Linked DNA regions of Homo sapiens: all the other regions are linked to region 2. The links are contacts of gene promoters, found by promoter capture Hi-C in blood cells and fetal thymus (Javierre and others, 2016). All regions are on one chromosome and are shown on one strand. The core of a region is centred on a gene start or on the middle of the fragment in contact, and the rest is flanking DNA. Distances in the headings are between cores, read along the strand shown. Region 1 has its middle 81 kb from the start of ICE1. Region 2 holds the start of NSUN2 (NOP2/Sun RNA methyltransferase 2). Region 3 overlaps ICE1 (interactor of little elongation complex ELL subunit 1). Region 4 overlaps ADCY2 (adenylate cyclase 2).

What was found. The method cuts DNA at HindIII sites, captures the fragments that hold promoters and counts their contacts. A CHiCAGO score of 5 or more calls a contact.
Region 1: a contact is called between a fragment that was not itself captured here and the fragment with the promoter of NSUN2 in region 2, in 9 of 17 cell types (naive CD8 T cells, total CD4 T cells, total B cells and 6 more). The highest score is 15.4, in naive CD8 T cells.
Region 3: a fragment that was not itself captured here is called in contact with the fragment with the promoter of NSUN2 in region 2 in 8 of 17 cell types (naive CD8 T cells, total CD4 T cells, naive B cells and 5 more); the score reaches 13.3 in naive CD8 T cells.
Region 4: a contact is called between a fragment that was not itself captured here and the fragment with the promoter of NSUN2 in region 2, in 1 of 17 cell types (monocytes). The highest score is 7.6, in monocytes.

Annotation. Positions count from the first base shown.
Region 1 is chr5:5,500,990-5,505,383 of GRCh38, forward strand. No RefSeq gene overlaps it. Among named protein-coding and RNA genes, the nearest start is that of ICE1, 81 kb to the left of the region's middle. The HindIII fragment of the contact is 3,021 bases long and covers 1-2,993 here.
Region 2 is chr5:6,630,202-6,634,382 of GRCh38, forward strand. It overlaps NSUN2 (NOP2/Sun RNA methyltransferase 2), which reads right to left and starts at 2,843. Exons shown (of 19, transcript NM_017755.6): 1 at 2,683-2,843; 2 at 2,398-2,555; 3 at 1,672-1,776. The coding sequence starts at 2,778. It overlaps SRD5A1 (steroid 5 alpha-reductase 1), which reads left to right and starts at 3,239. Exons shown (of 5, transcript NM_001047.4): 1 at 3,239-3,668. The coding sequence starts at 3,376. RefSeq lists enhancers at 2,939-3,450, 3,451-3,962 and a silencer at 3,086-3,475. The HindIII fragment of the contact is 4,632 bases long and covers 74-4,181 here.
Region 3 is chr5:5,479,523-5,483,763 of GRCh38, forward strand. All of the region lies in intron 17 of ICE1 (interactor of little elongation complex ELL subunit 1), which reads left to right. Among named protein-coding and RNA genes, the nearest start is that of ICE1, 59 kb to the left of the region's middle. The HindIII fragment of the contact is 1,366 bases long and covers 644-2,009 here.
Region 4 is chr5:7,752,413-7,756,657 of GRCh38, forward strand. All of the region lies in intron 15 of ADCY2 (adenylate cyclase 2), which reads left to right. Among named protein-coding and RNA genes, the nearest start is that of CFAP90, 97 kb to the right of the region's middle. The HindIII fragment of the contact is 4,872 bases long and covers 1-4,081 here.

The DNA.
Region 1 (4,394 bases), core at 233-2,732, 1.1 Mb before region 2:
TGAAACCATTTGCCCTAGATTTGAACAGGGTGGGATGTAGACAGTCTCGGGTGGGATGCAGATGGAAGGTTACAGGCCACATAGAAGGGCAATGGAGACAAAGTCTGGGGCCAAAATTAGGGGATGTCATATCAGCGACAACCCCACCCCCAAAAGCCAAGTCTCACATAGGGAGATATCTTGGGGGTAAGCCAAAAAAAAAAAAAAGCCCCCAAAGAGGAAGAAGATAGGGATGCTAACCTACTGTTAACCTAACTGTGGGTGGATCAGAGAAAAAAGCACACACAAACAGCAATATCTCCCAGAAGAATTTCTACCCAAAGGCCTGCACTCATGAATTTGGGACAGGAATATATACTGCTAGTGGGCTCAATTCCCCCAAAATGTGTTTTCAGTGATCCCAGGTTAGAAGTACCATCGAGGACCTGCAAAGGCAGTTGCAAATCTTCACTACAGGGAAGTTATTTTGATTCCAGTCCTTAAAAGATCCCCACACATGAAGTTCCAAGGATCATGAATTCATACTCCTACCCACACAATCCTAAGCAGATGAGAAATAAAAGAACAAATAAAACATCATGAGAGAATTTCCAGGAACAACAAACTGTGCTTAGAGGCAGACTTACAAAATTTGTGTATATTTTATTTACCACATTTAGAATGTCTAAAATATGTGTGTTTAATATGTTTAAGAAATAAGAGAGGAATGCAAAAGTATGACAAAAGAATAAGAGATTACAAAAATTTACCAAATTTGAACAAGAGCAAAATGGAGCTTTTAACAACAAGACCACACGAACATAAATATTTCAAAGTATAAAGCCAGGAAACAAGGATAAAAGCAGATTAGTTACAAATGATGAGATAATTTATGTATGATTTGTCTGAAAATACCCAGAAAACAGCACAGGAAGACACAGTGATAGACAATAGAAAGTAAGAGGATGGAAGATTTCTCTTATGTTTAGAATGTAGAAAATAACAAGAAACTATTATTTTAATGAAATAACCCAAGCAAGATGTAAGAAGCAACAAAATCATAGTCTTTCTAATCAGAGAGCTGATGATTAAAAAAAAAGAACCCATACATGATTAAATTCTAGAAAATAGCAGAGAAGACAGATATATTTTATCTCTGTCTTCATTAGAACATGCTTGAAAATCAGATATTATTATCATTATGTCTGCTTCTAAAGCTGAGGCACAGGTAGGCTAAGTGCCCTTAACTTCAATGAAAATACAGACTTGTAAAAAGCCCTGAGTAGATTCTCTAAATCTGCCTGCTGATTCCAATGTCCTCATGAAGCATCTAATGGCCTAAGATAAAATCTCTTCCTTTTCTGGGAAGGGAAGAGATTCTCATTCTTCTTGTAAACACAAGAGAAAAAGAAATCTGCCATAGATGGGGATAAAGATGAATTAGGATGAACTTTAGTAAAGGTGCAATGGCATATATGGCTGACAGATTAGAATTCTGAGGCTCCTCAATAATAGAATATGCTTCCCCCACAGGCTTTCCTCAAATGCTCAGGAACAGTATGTGTGATGGTTAATGTTAGGTGTCAGTTTGACTGGATTGAAGGATGCCTAGATGGCTGGTAAAGTATTGTATCTGGGTGTGTCTGTGAGGGTGTGTCTTGAGTCAGTGGACTGGGAGAGGAAGACCCTCCCTCCATGTAGGTGGGCACCATCCCATTGGCTGCCAGCATGGCTGGAACCAAGCAGGAGGAGGAAGGTGGGATAGGCTGGCTTGCTGGATGTTCTGGTTTCCTTCTTTTTCCTGTGCTGGATGCTTCCTTCTGCTCCTCCTGCCCTTGGACATCAGACTCCAGGTTCTTCAGCCTTTGAACTCTGGGACTTGCACTAGTGGCTTGGCAACGACTCTCAGACCCTCATGCACAGACTGAAGGCTGCACTGTTGGCTTTCCTGGTTTTGAGGCTTTAGGACTTGGACTGAGCCACTACCAGCTTCTCTCTTCCCCAGCTTGCAGACGGCCTGTTGTGGGACTTTGCCTTGTGATCGTGTGAGCCAATTCTCCCTATAAAAACAAACAAACAAACAAAAAAAAAAAAAAACAAAAGAAAAAACCAAACCAAAACAAAAAAACACTCCCCCTTTTATATGTACATATATCCTGTTAGTTCCATCCATCTGGAGAATCCTGACTAATACAGTATACCAGAGCCTGCGGTGGAGACCAGATAGAGACCTGGAGATTCCCCTGAAGTCCAAGGCACCTTCTCCCAGACCAAGGCAACACCTACTGAAGGAGGAGAGAAGCAGAGCGTGAGATCTGTGATAAATCAACCCAAGGCACTCACCATTTTTAGTTCCCAAGAGCCGGGCATAAACAAGAGACCTGAGGGAATCCTCCTCTCTTAAAAAACAAAAGCAGTGGACCAACTATGAAGAGGAAAATTTCTGCCTTGAACTGTATCTGAAAGATGTTATTTGGGAAAGAAAAGAAAGAGAAGAATGGGCAAAGAAGTAATCACATGGTTGAAGTCTGTGGATGCAACTGTTAATGAAGATGGTTAAACTTGAAATAAACAATTTTAAGAATTATTTGGTCTGCAGATATTTTACTTTAAATAAATGTCTATTGTAATGGTAAAAAAAACAAAAACAAAAACAAAACAAAACAAAAACAAAACAAAACCAAAAAAACCTCAGGCTTTCAACTGACAATAGCTACGGGTGGGGCAGAAAAGATGAAAGAAACTCCTCCAGGGCATTCCAGACAGAGCAGGAGCTCTATGTGGATCCAAAAGCCTGGGCTGGACTGGAGAGCAAAGAAGATTCTCCAACAATGTACAAACCATCATTTGAGTTTTAAATCAGAGAGAGATCTCTCATGATTTGAAAAACTGGTGATTTGGGTGACATGAAAAACTTTGGGGAATTTCGCTAGTGCTCAGAAACCCACACACTGCAGAATGGAAAATCCTGAGCCCACTTTCAAAACATTTGAACCTAGTAGTAAACTGAAGCAAGCTTAACTTGCCAAATAGCTCAGACACAGCTTAACTGCAGAATACGTCTATTGAGTGACATGAAACCAGTGCCTGACATAAGAAGGGAAATCGTGTGCACTTTGAGCTCTGCTGTTCTGATATCTTACAATAAAGAATAGAACAGTTCATAACTAGACATACAGATGGGCCAGATGTTGAAATTATTTGATGGGGGCTTTAACTAAAAGTGTGCTAAATAATATTTTGGAAAAAGTGTACAGCATGTAGGAAGAGATGCCGAATATCACCAGAGATATGGAAGCTGTGGAAGAGAATGGAGTGGAAGTGCTACACATGAGAAATATAATATCAGAAATAAGTACCTTATTGGATTTTGTAATAGAGTGACTTAGCAGAGGAAATAATCAGTGAACTTCAGGACAAGTTATTAGAAAGTATCCAAGCTGAAATACAAATTAAAAATTGACAAATAAAAAATAAACATAAAAAGACCAAAAAAAAAAAAACCCACAAAATCCAGAATAGGTTATGATGCCTTTCTTTGTGAGACAATATCAAATGACCCAACATACATATAATTGGGACCCAAGAAGAAGAGAAAATGAAGAAGAATAAATATTTAATATGATATTTGCTGAGAATAGTCTAAAATTGATAAAAGACATAAACTCACAAATCTAAAACAATGAGAAAACACCAATCAGGAGAAATACAAAGTACCTAAGCACATCATAGCTAATTGGTGACCACCAAAACTAAAGAGCAGATTTTTAAAATGAGCCAGATAAAAGATGCGCATTATGTACAGGAGAACAAAGATAAGTGCAGTCACTGACTTCTCACCAGACTTAATAGAAACAACAGACAGATATCCTCAAAGAGCTGAAAGGATACATGAGAGCATGCATGCACACACATATGTACAAATAACTACCAACCTAGAATTCCACATCTTGCAGAAATAGCCTTCAAAAATGAAGATAAGCCGATTTCAAAATATCAAATACTGTGTAATTTCATTTTTGAAATGAGAAAATTATAGAAAGAGAAGACAGATTCATGGTTACCGGGGTCATGGATGGATGTAGGGAAGAGACAGTTAAGTGTTTCTAAAAAAGGGCAACATGAGAGATCCTGTAGGTGATGGAACTGTTCTACATCTTGACTGTATCAATGTCTATACCTGATTATGATATTGTACTATAATTTTGTAAGTTGTCATCATTGGAGGAGACTCAGTAAAAAATATGTGGGATCTCTCTGCATTTCTTACAATTGTATCTGAATCTACTATTATCTCAAAAAGGAGATTAATTTTAAAATGAAGGGAAAATAAATACATTTTCAAGAGATAAAAGCTAAGAGAATTTCTCTCCATCAGACCTTCTCTTTAAGAAATACCACAATTGGCTGTGTGC
Region 2 (4,181 bases), core at 1,593-4,092:
CACTACAGTGGACAATTAGTGACCACTAACAGCAACGTAGCACCCGTATCATTTTCCTATACTGTACCCTTCAAGCTTTTAAAAATCTAAGATGTGGCATATCTATTCTTTTTTCCCTTTTTGAGACATGGTCTCGCTCTGTGGCCCAGGCTGGAGTGCAGTGGCATGATCTTGGCTTACTGCAACCTCCACCTCCTGGGTTCAAGCGATTCTCATGCCTCAGCCTCCCTAGTGTCTGGGATTACAGGCGTGTGCCACCATGCCTGTCTAATTTTTGTATTTTTAGTAGAGATAGGGTTTCACGATGTTGGTCATATTTATTCCTATATCCCAGCAACACATTCCATGATGGTGATATTCGGTCTTGATACTGGTTGAATACTGACTTAATGTTTGGCCAGTCAGCATTCATTGTGAATGTATATGCTTATCTGTGATAGGGACAATGAAAATCCAAATAGCCAATGAAAGAAAAACAAGCAAATCTGTACCCCATGATTAATGAAAATCTGACCTTGATTTGCGAACACTAAAGGTTATCCAAAAAGGAAAGATAACACTACGTACTGGAATAGTCAAAACCTCAAAAGTTGATGCAAAACGCTTAATTTGGCAGGGCGCAGTGGCTCACGCCTGTAATCCCAGCACTTTGGGAGGCCGAGGTGGGCGGATCATGAGGTCAGGAGATGAGACCATCCTGGCTAGCAAGGTAAAAACCCGTCTCCACTAAAAATACAAAAAAATTGGCCGGGCGTGGTGGCGGGCACCTGTAGTCCCAGCTACTCGGGAGGCTGAGACAAGAGAATGGCGTGAACCAGGGAGGTGGAGCTTGCAGTGAGCCAAGATGGTGCCACTGCTCTCCAGCCTGGGCGACAGAGTGAGACTCCGTCTCCAAACAAACAAACAGACAAACAAAAAACGGCTTAATTCACCTTTTCGTGCATTACTTTTCTGAGAACTCAATACCTCAAAGTTAATAATAACGACTTTCCCACTTATGTAAGTTAACTGAAGGACTGGCGCCTCCGGAGTTCTCCAAGCATCTTTACAAGATGCTATCAGCACAAGGGATCACCTTCATACAACTGAGACTAGAACCGAGCCATGAGGAATAGGTAACCCAGAAGGCACCTCCAGGACAGGTCAAGAAAGAGGTAGCTCCCAGAGTAGTAGCACGCTTGGGTGCTGAGACTCGGAAATGCTACATTGGCTGGTGCAGTCTGTACTGCGAAGTACCAGGAGACAACCTGACAGCAGACAGTGGTAACCTGTCTGTAATGGAAAACACTAAGAGACTACCTACCAGGAGACTGTTGTCAAGCTAAGTCTGTCCTTTTTCTGAAGGCAAAGCAGCCACTCTGCAACAGTTTTGATGTGAGAAAACAAGGGCTGTAAAAGGGAGCTGGCGGAAGTGGTGACATAAAGGAAGAGGCTGGATGTACTAGGAAGAGCTGGCTGAAATCAGTGACTCATAAAGCTGCAAATCGCAAATCGCATGAAAACTTGCGTAGCAATATAATGTTGATAAAAGCACCAGGTACTAGAACATTAGGATGTTTGCAAAGTATACCCAAGCTCTTTAACAGCAAATGCAGTACCAAGAAATATAATTCAAGTGATAGAGATTAATATCCCAAATAAATATTCGGCATGAAGCACTGTGGTACCTACCAACTCAGTGGCTGTGGAACTTCAACTTTCTGACCGTCCACCTCCAGGTCCTCCAATTCCTTAAAATATTTGTTCTTTAAGCAATGGAGAATCTCTTTTGCGTGGCTATTGAAAAATAAGGAAGTTTCAAACTGATCTAAAAAACTAAGTTAATACATTGTATCTTCTTAAATTTAAGACTGCAAGTGTTTTAAAACTAAAACCAACTTTTGCATGGAGAGTAAACATTCTTTAGTCACTACTTTTACACTGTATGCCTTCAAAATTTAAGCAATCCACACTGTTTGAGCCCTAAGAGCAACACTGCATTCCTTCTCTCCTAAGCATATCCTACCGTTAAGTTTTACTTGCGACTCATTTAGAAAGATGTAACTACAAAGATGGAGGGGGGGCGCGGAGGAGGGGAGAACCAAGGGGTTTTATGCATTCTCTATAAATTCTCTTACGTTCCAAAAGGTAAGACCCTCAGCTTCCCTCCTGGAAGATTCCCCAGGAGCCGAATCTTCCTCAGATCTCATTTTCATTTCGTCTTCTAACCTTGCGCCTGCAATACCTCCGTGACCATTTCATTGGACCCTGTGCTCCCCACCTCAATGCTTCCTGAATCCAAACCGCTGAAACGCCACGGTTCTCTGGCACTGTAACACTTGTCGAAGAAAACACCGTCGCCTTTAACCTCCAGCATCCTGGCCCCAACTCCCAAAAAATCAGGCACTGCCTCCCTACCTTTTGTAACCAGTAATTCTTAAAGTGGCCGGGAGCGGCTCCCTGAGAGCGTCCATGAACTGGCCCCACTCGCCCTCGGGCACGATCTTGAGCTCCTGGTAGTAGTGCTCGAACAGCTTGTTCTCCTTGACGATCTCGGGGTAGCCTCCTTCCCAGCCCTGAGGAAGGAAAGAGACGTCTACCCCGAGGCCCAAGGAGCCGCCCCCTCGCCGCCGCCTCGCAGGCCTCGGGGTCCGGGAAGCCCAGGAGGAGCCCCTGGCCCGCCCGCCGGGTCCCGGCTCCTACCGCCTCGCCGCGCTTTCCACCACCCTCGGCGCCATCCTCCGCGTCCTCCGGCCGCTGCTGTTGCTGGAGCCGCCGACCCCGCGACCGCCGCCCCATAGCCCACGCGGCCGCGCACGCAGCACGCAGAAACCGGCCCGCCACGGCCAGAACTCTAGCCCTACACCTCCCGGGACTTCCGGCCGGAAACCAAGGCCCCACGTGTCCGGGCCTGGTCCTTTCGGGGACCTTTGGGGACCGTCCAGGAATAAGCCCAAAGCGCACAACCCGTCTTTCAGAAAAGCGGCGTGACAGGGAAAACAGCGAACAGCTCTAAGGGGAAAAAAATGCTCCAGGAAGCAGCCACAAAGGCGTCTCCGCGCGAAGCGCCCAGGTTTCCCACGCGGGCTCAAGGAGCTCCGCGGACAGCCTGAAGCCGCGCGTGCGCAGAGCGGCGCGGGGTTACTGCGGCCCCGGCGTGGGTGGGGCGCTTGCAGGTCCCTCCCCGCGCAAGTGCTCGCCCCGCCCCCGGGGCCGCACCCACAGCCCCGGCTACCCCGGAGAAGCCTGACTTGAGAACCCTTTCTGCAGAGTCCCGGCAGTGCGGGACTCCGGTAGCCGCCCCTCCGGTAGCCGCCCCTCCTGCCCCCGCGCCGCCGCCCTATATGTTGCCCGCCGCGGCCTCTGGGGCATGGAGCACGCTGCCCAGCCCTGGCGATGGCAACGGCGACGGGGGTGGCGGAGGAGCGCCTGCTGGCCGCGCTCGCCTACCTGCAGTGCGCCGTGGGCTGCGCGGTCTTCGCGCGCAATCGTCAGACGAACTCAGTGTACGGCCGCCACGCGCTGCCCAGCCACAGGCTCCGAGTGCCGGCGCGGGCCGCCTGGGTGGTGCAGGAGCTGCCCTCGCTGGCCCTGCCGCTCTACCAGTACGCCAGCGAGTCCGCCCCGCGTCTCCGCAGCGCGCCCAACTGCATCCTCCTGGCCATGTTCCTCGTCCACTACGGGCATCGGTAACGTCCCCGGCCCCCGGCCCCCTACCCTACTCCCGGCCCGGCGTCCTCTCCGACCCTCCCCTCACTGCCCGGTGCCCTCTCCCCGAAGCCTCCCCCACCCAGATGCCCTCTCCCTGCCAGATCCCCCGGGGCGTCCCCCATCTGCACGGGTGCCCTTCCCCGAGTCCCCCGGCCCCGGGAGTTTGGAAACCAGAAGGGATTCGTCTGGAAAGGGCGGGAAACAAAGGACTGGAAGGGAGTGATGGAAAAAAACATGATGAAACTGATCTGGAAAGAGCCACTCAGTGGTCCTAGGTTTGGTTTCCTTAGCCGGGCGCGGTGGCGCCTGTCTGTGATCCCAGTTACTCGGGAGTCTGAGATGGAAGAATCGCTTGAACCCGAGAGGCGGAGGTTACAGTGAGCCGAGATCTCGCCACTGCCCTCCAGCCTGGGTGACAGAGCGAGACTCTGTCTCAAAATTAAATATATAAAAATAAAGAGTTAAAAAGTAAAAATGTAAAATAAAAATGA
Region 3 (4,241 bases), core at 77-2,576, 1.2 Mb before region 2:
AAGACAGTGTGGTGATTCTCAAGGATCTAGAAACAGAAATACCATTTGACCCAGCAATCTCACACTAGTGGGTATATACCCAAAGAATTATAAATCATTCCACTATAAAGACTCATGCACACATATGTTTATTGCAGCACTATTTACAATAGCAAAGACTTGGAACCAACCCAAGTGTCCATCAGTGAGAGACTGGATAAAGAAAATGTGGCACATAATATACCATGGAATACTATGCAGCCATAAAAATGAGTTATGTCCTTTGCAGGGACATGGATGAAGCTGGAAGCCATCATTCTCAGCAAACTAACACAGGAACAGAAACCCAAGCACTGCATGTTCTCACTCATAAGTGGGAGTTGAACAGTGAGAACACATGGACACAGGGGAACATCACACACTGGGGCCTGTCGGGGCATGGGGGGTAAGGGGAGGGAGAGCATTAGGACAAATACCTGTGGGACTTAAAACCTAGATGATGGGTTGATAGGTGCAGCAAACCATCATGGCACATGTATACCTATGTAACAAACCTGTACGTTCTGCATGTGTATTCCACAACTGAAAAAAGAAAGCTCTCTTAGTTTTGACCTGACTTCTCTATCTGCAGCATGTATTCTTTGCCCCTGGGGAATATAAAACAAGCTTCATCCAATTTCTGCATTATAGCCCTTAGATACTTTGAAGATAATTATGACTTTTAAGTATCTTTGGATTTTTCTTTTTCTTTTTTTTTTTTTTTTTTGAGATGGAGTCTGGCTCTGTTGCCCAGGCTGGAGTGCAGTGGCACCATCTCGGCTCACTGCAAGCTCCGCCTCCCGGGTTTGCGCCATTCTCCTGCCTCAGCTTCCCTAGTAGCTGGGACTACAGGCGCCCGCCACCACGCCCGGCTAATTTTTGTATTTTTAGTAGAGACGGGGTTTCATCATGTTAGCCAGGATGGTCTCGATCTCCTGACCTCGTGATCCACCCACCTCGGCCTCCCAAAGTGCTGGGATTACAGGTGGAGCCACCGCGCCCAGCCGGATTTTTCTTAATGAAAACTCACAGATAGCATCATTTGAAATAAGGTTAGTGTTTGAGAATCGGTTATATAAGTCAGTCTAAAAATAGATCACAGTAGGAAATACCCTGTGAATTTTGTTACTGTATCGGCAAATTTGCATTCCTCCTCTGTGTGTACTTTGCATGCAAATATAGCAACATTGCCCTAAGTAAATAAAATGGTTCTAGACAAAAACCTGGTTACAAAGTAGACACCAAATTTCACTGGAAATAACCAATAATACACTTGGAGATAAGTTACCAAACAAGAGTGTAGGAGAACCAAATGATTGCCAAAGACTATGAATTTGGTAGAGATACATCAGAAGATAAGCAGAGGCACAGAAGTGGAAATGAAACTATGCCATGTGGTGTACAGGTTCAAAACTGTTTTGCTGAATTCCTTAGTTCAAGATACCCTCAAGAACAATTTTCATTCTAGCTGTGGAGCGCTAGGGAACACAGGAGGGTCAGTGATGGCATTCCCCATAGTTAGGTGACATCTATATATCTGGAAATGCTGATTTCAGTAGCAGCTTCTCTTATGAATTCAGGAAAAAATGCTCATGCTTTTGACTCATTCTAAATTGTGAAATCTTTTTTGAGAGTTAAAAAAAATTAGAAGAGATGTTTTAAGGTGTAAATAAATATGTTATCCTAGATAATCTGTGGAATTTTCAAAACAATATGGTATTTTTTTAAGTCACACTTTAAAATATGGTGATTTTTTTGTTCTTGTTTTACTGGTTGTGTTTCTGTATTGGTTAATCTGGAGAGGAAATAAGAGTGAAGACTGTTTTTTGTGGTCAGCAGCCTTATACGACAGCGGAAGCAGCCTCTTTGCGTTTATAGAGGAGGGTCAGCTGTACCTGTGATTTATCTTGGTGTCTTCTCCAGTGTCTCTTCTAACTAGTGTTTATCTTCTGGGATTACCAAATTTGGCTGGCCATCCAAATTGCCAGAGAAGCTTCTTAAAAAACATAGATTCTCAGGTTCCATCTTCCAAGGTTCTGATAGTGTTAGAGTAGTGTCTGCAAAGCTCTATAGGCATGCTAATGAAATAATGGGTTCGGAAAAGAATGATTGCCATAAATAAAATAGTATACACGGTCATTCACCACATAACAATGTTTTCATCAGCAGTGGAGCACATACCAGAAGGTGATCTCAGAAGATGATAATACCTTGTTTTCCTGTACCCTTTCTATGTTTAGATACACAAATGCTTACTCAAGTGTTATAGTTGCCTCCAGTATTCGGTACAGGAACATGCTGTACAGATTTGTAGCCTATCAGTAGGCTACCCCATATAGCCTAGGTGTGTAGTGGCTACTGCATCCATGTTTGTGCAAGTGTACTCTAGGATGATGTTTGTCCAAGGACAGAATCTCCTCAAAGATGAATTTCTTAAAATGTGGTCTCCTGACTAAGCGACCTGTGACTGTACTTTACCTTTCATTTAGATGTCACAAAACTCTTTTAAAGAAAACTATTTAAGATTATATACTTTCAAATATGTACCTTAAAATATGTGAATTAAGAATATGTTAATAGTTTATTTAAAAAGAAGGATGTGTAATTGTAGGGATAAAATATGGCTTGTAATTTTGTTCAAATCAAGTCTAGTTTATTCTTTGAATCTAAAATTCTGGCTGTTGAGAGCCAAATAATTTATGACTATTTAATAATATGTATTATTTAGAGTAATATATGCATACTTATACAATTAAGACTGATATACAATACAATTATATGTTATAGAGAATAAGAATAATGTGTAATTAACATAATATATAATTGACAATACCATGTACTAAAATGCTTATAAACATATAAAAGCAGTTCAGAGGATGGATAATTAGAAAGCGTAATGTCAAAGTAGGAGCAAAGTCAGGAAGAATAAGCCCTTCTCAGGTCTGCTGATGAAGTCGTGTGCATGAGCAAGATGGGTGTGGGGAGGCTGGAGCACAGCCTAGTGGGCTGCCACGTGTGCACAGGTGCACCAGCACAGGAGAGGAGCAGCAGAGCCTGGTCCTGCCTGTCCTTTTCGTGCCGTGGCACTATACGCAGGAGATGGGACTCAGAGCGAGGCAGTTGCTGGGTGACAAGGACAGTAGTGTGGGCTGAGGGCAAAGGGTGAAAGTGAGTGAAGCCTGCTGTTTAGGCCTGGCAGATTTCTCAGAGGTGACATTAACACCCCCACCCCCCAACACACACACACACACACACACACACACACACACACTCATCTGGATGAGAGTTTGAATTGTTACTAAGGAGAAACTGTTAGTGAACTTTCTTGCCATTTCTGAATCTGACCTTGACTGAAAAATTGAGTAAAAAATCAAGTTGGTAGGCTGTGATTTAATAATAATAACTTAAGTCACACACTAATCTTCATAAAATAAAGGAATTGTCTTTATTCTTTTTTTGTTTTTTTTGAGACGGAGTTTCGCTCTTGTTGCCCAAGCTGGAGTGCAATGGCGTGATCTCAGCTCACTGCAACCTCCACCTCCCAGGTTCAAGCGATTCTCCTGTCTCAGCCTCCCGAGTAGCTGGGATTACAGGCATGCGCCACCATGCTCGGCTAATTTTTTGTTGTTTTTTTTAGTAGAGACAGAGTTTCTCCATGTTGGTCAGGCTGGTCTCAAACTCCCGGCCTCAGGTGATCCTCCTGCCTTGGCCTCCCAAAGTGCTGGGATTACAGGTGTGAGCCACCATGCCCGGCCACTGTCTATTCTTAATTCAAAATTTGCACATCCTATTGAGATTTTTACTCCGTGGACAGTAAAACAAGCTTTAGGTCAGTGAGACTTGCGTTATCTAATGTTGGATTCAGGTGTGAGCATTGCTAACAGCAAATGGTCACAGGATTAGTACACGGGGTTTACTCCAACCTACCTTAATGATTAACTATTAAAGAGCATTTTGTGGAATGCTTGAATTGCTCTAGAGTCACAGAAATGTGGTGGAGAATAGAAACTGATCTCACTGCAGTGCTCAGTTCTTGGCAGAGCTGAAGCCTAGAAAGATTAAGCCCTTCTCTGAGGCCATCCAGTGGAAAGGTAGCAAAGTTGGGACAGAAATTTGCCTACCACTGGATTCAGTGGAGTGTAAATCTGTAGAATACCACCTTTCTGCCCCAAAGAGCTTATAAAATCCTGAATAATTTGCCCCTCCTTGTATTAACTGGAACC
Region 4 (4,245 bases), core at 396-2,895, 1.1 Mb after region 2:
TTTCGTTTTTCTAATAATAAAAGTTTGCTTCTCAGCCACTCTGATATCTTTATAACTTTTCTGGATTTTTTTTTTCATTTTATTAAGTTCACTTAATATGAGCTTCTACTTCTCTTCAAGTGTCTCATCTTATTGTTAAAATGGAAACTAATGAAACTGTAAATGAAGTCTACTTTTATAATGATTAAGTTAAATTATGAAGAATTAATTTTAGAGTGAAAAATTTAGATTTAACTTAATTTGAGAGACTACCAGTTGTTTCCATTGCAAGTGGATCAAAACAAGGGAAGAAAAAAAAAAGGAAAGAGAGAGGGAAGGAAGAGAAGCTGGCTGATATTTTTGGTGGAGCATGTATGAACATTTTGTTTTTCTGAGGAAGATCTGCATGTACTGGATTAAGAACATTGGGATTCATCCCACGTTTTTCCTACCACACCCCACTGCTCGTTGTCCCCATCATCAATTCTATGATAGGATTTTCCTTTTTTTTTTTTTTTTTTTTCTGAGACACAGTCTTGCTCTGTCACTCAGGCTGGAGTACAGTAGTGCAATCTCAGCTCACTGCAACCTCTGCCTCCCGGGTTCAAGCAGTTTTCCTGCTTCAGCCTCCTTAGTAGCTGGGATTACAGGCACCCGCCACCACACCCAGCTTATTTTTGTCTTTTTAGTAGAGACAGGGTTTCACCATGTTGGCCAGGATAGTCTCAAACTCCTGACCTCATGATCTGCCCATCTCAGCCTCCCAAAGTGCTGGGATTACAGGCGTGAGCCACAGTGCCTGGCTAGGATTTTCCTATATATTTCTTCTTTTATTACATCTCCCACTGCATTTAGTATCAATCCCTTGTTTGTTAATGGATGAATGTGATATTCACATCCAAGTGCATTTCTAGAAGGTACACGGTGAGCTCACTGTAAGTAAGAGCCGATCATGGGGTTCAGTGAGATGATCAAGGAAGGGAGGAAACAGATGTGGTTGAAATTATGCCAGGAGTTAAACCAAAGATCAAAGAAAATGACTCCACTGACTGGGCTCACAGCAGGCATTTTCTCATTTTCAGTTGAATAGTATCTTCCAAATAAAGGCCAAAATATTTTTTGAGATGTTGTCATTTATAACATTTAATTAGGATGGTCGGAATTTTGATAAACATTTTTCCACCAGAGCCTTTAATACTTAATCAAAAACAGGATAAACTGAAGCCAATGATCATATCAAGAGCCAAGTTGTAATTTTTCTACAGAGCTACACACTGAATCAAGGGTCTCCATTTTTCTTAATCAGGTTCCTTCCATTTTAGAATCTTAGTCCTGTTTCTCCTCTTATCCCCATCATTGGTTTCTTCTGCTCCCCCCACCAGCTTGATCCTCCACTTCCTCTTTCATCCCTGTCATTGCAACTGTCACCTCTCTGTTCTCTTCTACTTTCTTGTCCTTGCCAGCAGCAATGCCTACCAATTTTTACACTTCAGAACAGGTTTACTTACCTTGTCACTGCTTGGTGACAAGGAAAGATACCGCCTGTCTCCCTGACCTCTGGAACAACACATTTGGCATAAGTTTTAAAACAATTGTGAGGGAGAACTTTGAGGTATGCATGGAAAATGCATGGGTGAATAATTGAACCAAGCGCATCCTGAACCTGTTGTGCCAAACCCATGTCTGCCAAACCCCCATGCGTCTAGTAAGTAGCTGCAAGTGCTGCCGATTCGTCATTTTGCCTGGCATGTCACACGAACAGAAAAAAATTCCTGCATATCTGCCCGGGTCTGTTTTAGTAAGTTACTAGCCTATGAGCAGAATATAACATATTCCTATTAGATTAGCATATTTGACAAGATTATCACCACGTATTTTTCTAAATCTTCAAACACAGTAACTTGTTTTAATTTTGTAATTTCAAAAATTTGTCTGTGTAATAACTAGCTAATATTTTACCTAATTGACAGTGATATGCAATCTTAGCTAGATGTACATTTTCCCCTGAAGTAATAAACTTTTTAAATGTTCTACTGTTAACATTTTCATTATCATATCTATTGATAATTTCTGTGTACAGAAATTATCATAATTTCACAAATATAAGAGCATTGATTTTAATAATTTTCTCTTAAAGGTACTAACTGTAGTCAATCTGGATGTGAATATATAAATACTGTCTTAATTTGTGAGAATCAAACCAAATGCCATTATCTAATGGAATCTGAGCTAGATGAGCATAATATTTCATTTGAAGCTCGGCTCTTCATATTGTATTATAGGTTGGTGCAAAAGTAGTTGCGGTTTAAAGGTAATGGCAAAAAACAAAACAAACAAACAAAAAAAACTCAGCTACTCAGGAGGCTGAGACAGGAGAATCGCTTGAACCTAGGAGGCGGAGGTTGCAGTGAGCAGAGATCGTGCCATTGAACTCCAGCCTGAGTGGTGAGAGAGCAAGACTCCGTCTCAGGAAAAAAAAAAAGAAAAAACAAAACAAAACAAAACAAAAAACCTTCTTCTACGGAACACAGATCTGACTGTGTTTTGTGATATTAGTATTATTAGAAGTAGCATGCATTAAACAATAATGATAACCATTCGTGGGTGGATGTTCTCTGGCTACCTGACCCTCTAAGATGCTGCATGTTCAGAGCATTAAGGGACATCTTGCTGCATGACAGATTTCCTGCCATCACCAACCCCTATCCAAACCTGCTCTTAAGTAGAAGCGTCAAGTACAGATCTGGTTCTTCTGTTGCCGGTGATCAGATGTCCTGCAGAGCTGGGCCGAGGGCGCCCCCTGCCGCCAGTCAGCAGTCCAGCTCTGGGCAGCCTGTGCGGCTGAGGGCAGCAGTGGCTCAAGCTCCCTGGTAGGTACTCAGAGAAATGAGACGAGGGCGCAGGAAAATCAGCCCAAGAAGTGAACCCGGAACCTGGTCCTGCGTCTCCCTCAGGGGGGCATGTGCGCTGTACACAAACATTGTTCATCTTTTCCTATCAGGAGCTGGAAGGAAGAAAAAAAAAAACATGGTGGAAAGGAGTAGAGAGGAGGAGATTTTGTTGTTGTTTACATAGATATAAAGGAAATAGGATTTTGGTCACTAAAATGTTTCTAAGAAACATTGTGTTTTCTTCATTGAAATAACAGGAAGAGCTAACACTTGTAAGTCCTGTTGCACGCACCTTCTCTAACTCGTTTAAACCTCTGCAAAGACAGAGGAGGCAGGTACTGTTATTATCCCCGTTTCAGAGAGGAAGAAACTGGGACCCCATTTCAGAGAGGATCATTAATTTGCGCAAGTTTCCCAGCAGTAGAGGTTTGAAGCTAGGCCATGGCTGATTCTTTAACCTTCTCAACTCCTCTCTCCTGTGTTTAGACGATCATTCAACTGTTGTATCAACATTGAACATACAGCAATGCTTAGGGCAACAATAATTTTAGGAACAATACAAAAATAAGATGTGAAAGAAGTAGAGAACTGAAAGCGCAGCCTATTTGTGCTGTTCAGGAATATTCTTTATTTGAATTTGAATTTCACTGATGTCACACCAGCTTTGTTTGCCAATAGGTTAACTTGGTAGTATCGATCAAAGGGCATAATTTATGTTATTCCTTCTTCTGAATTTCTTGAAATCATCACCTTGTTTTGTTTCCAAGACACATAGCCTTGGGACCACAGGCCCGTTAGTGTGAAGATAACAATGTCAATCCCTGGAGGACTTTTACTTCCTGCTTCTCATATCAGATAACGTATGCAAATTATGCCCACGCAGCATCTGCATAGGCAGAGTTGATGTCACCCACAGTTCAGTGGAACTCTGTGTACTGCTCCACACTCATACCTGGGAGAATATGGTGAGAATCCTTGGAAAGGTGGCCCTCAAGATGGGTGAGCTTATGCACTGAGACCCCATGGTGAATGGGGAGCAAATGCTGGCTGTCGTTCCCCAAAGATCTCAATTCCTTCTTGTATCAAAAAAGTTTCCCCAACCCCGATATGTATAGCCGCATATTCACAACAGCCAAGAGGTGAAGCAACTCAGTGTCCATTTTATGAATGGATAAAAAAAAGTATAGATCCATACAATGGAGTTTTATTCAAGCTTTAAAAAAGAAGGAAATCTTGGCATAATGCTACAACATCGTGATCTCTGGTGACATTATGCTGAAAGAAATAAGCCAGTCACAAAAGGAGAACTACTAGATGGTTCCACTTATAGGAGGTCTTAGAATAGTCACAGTCATGGAAACAGGAAGGGGAATGG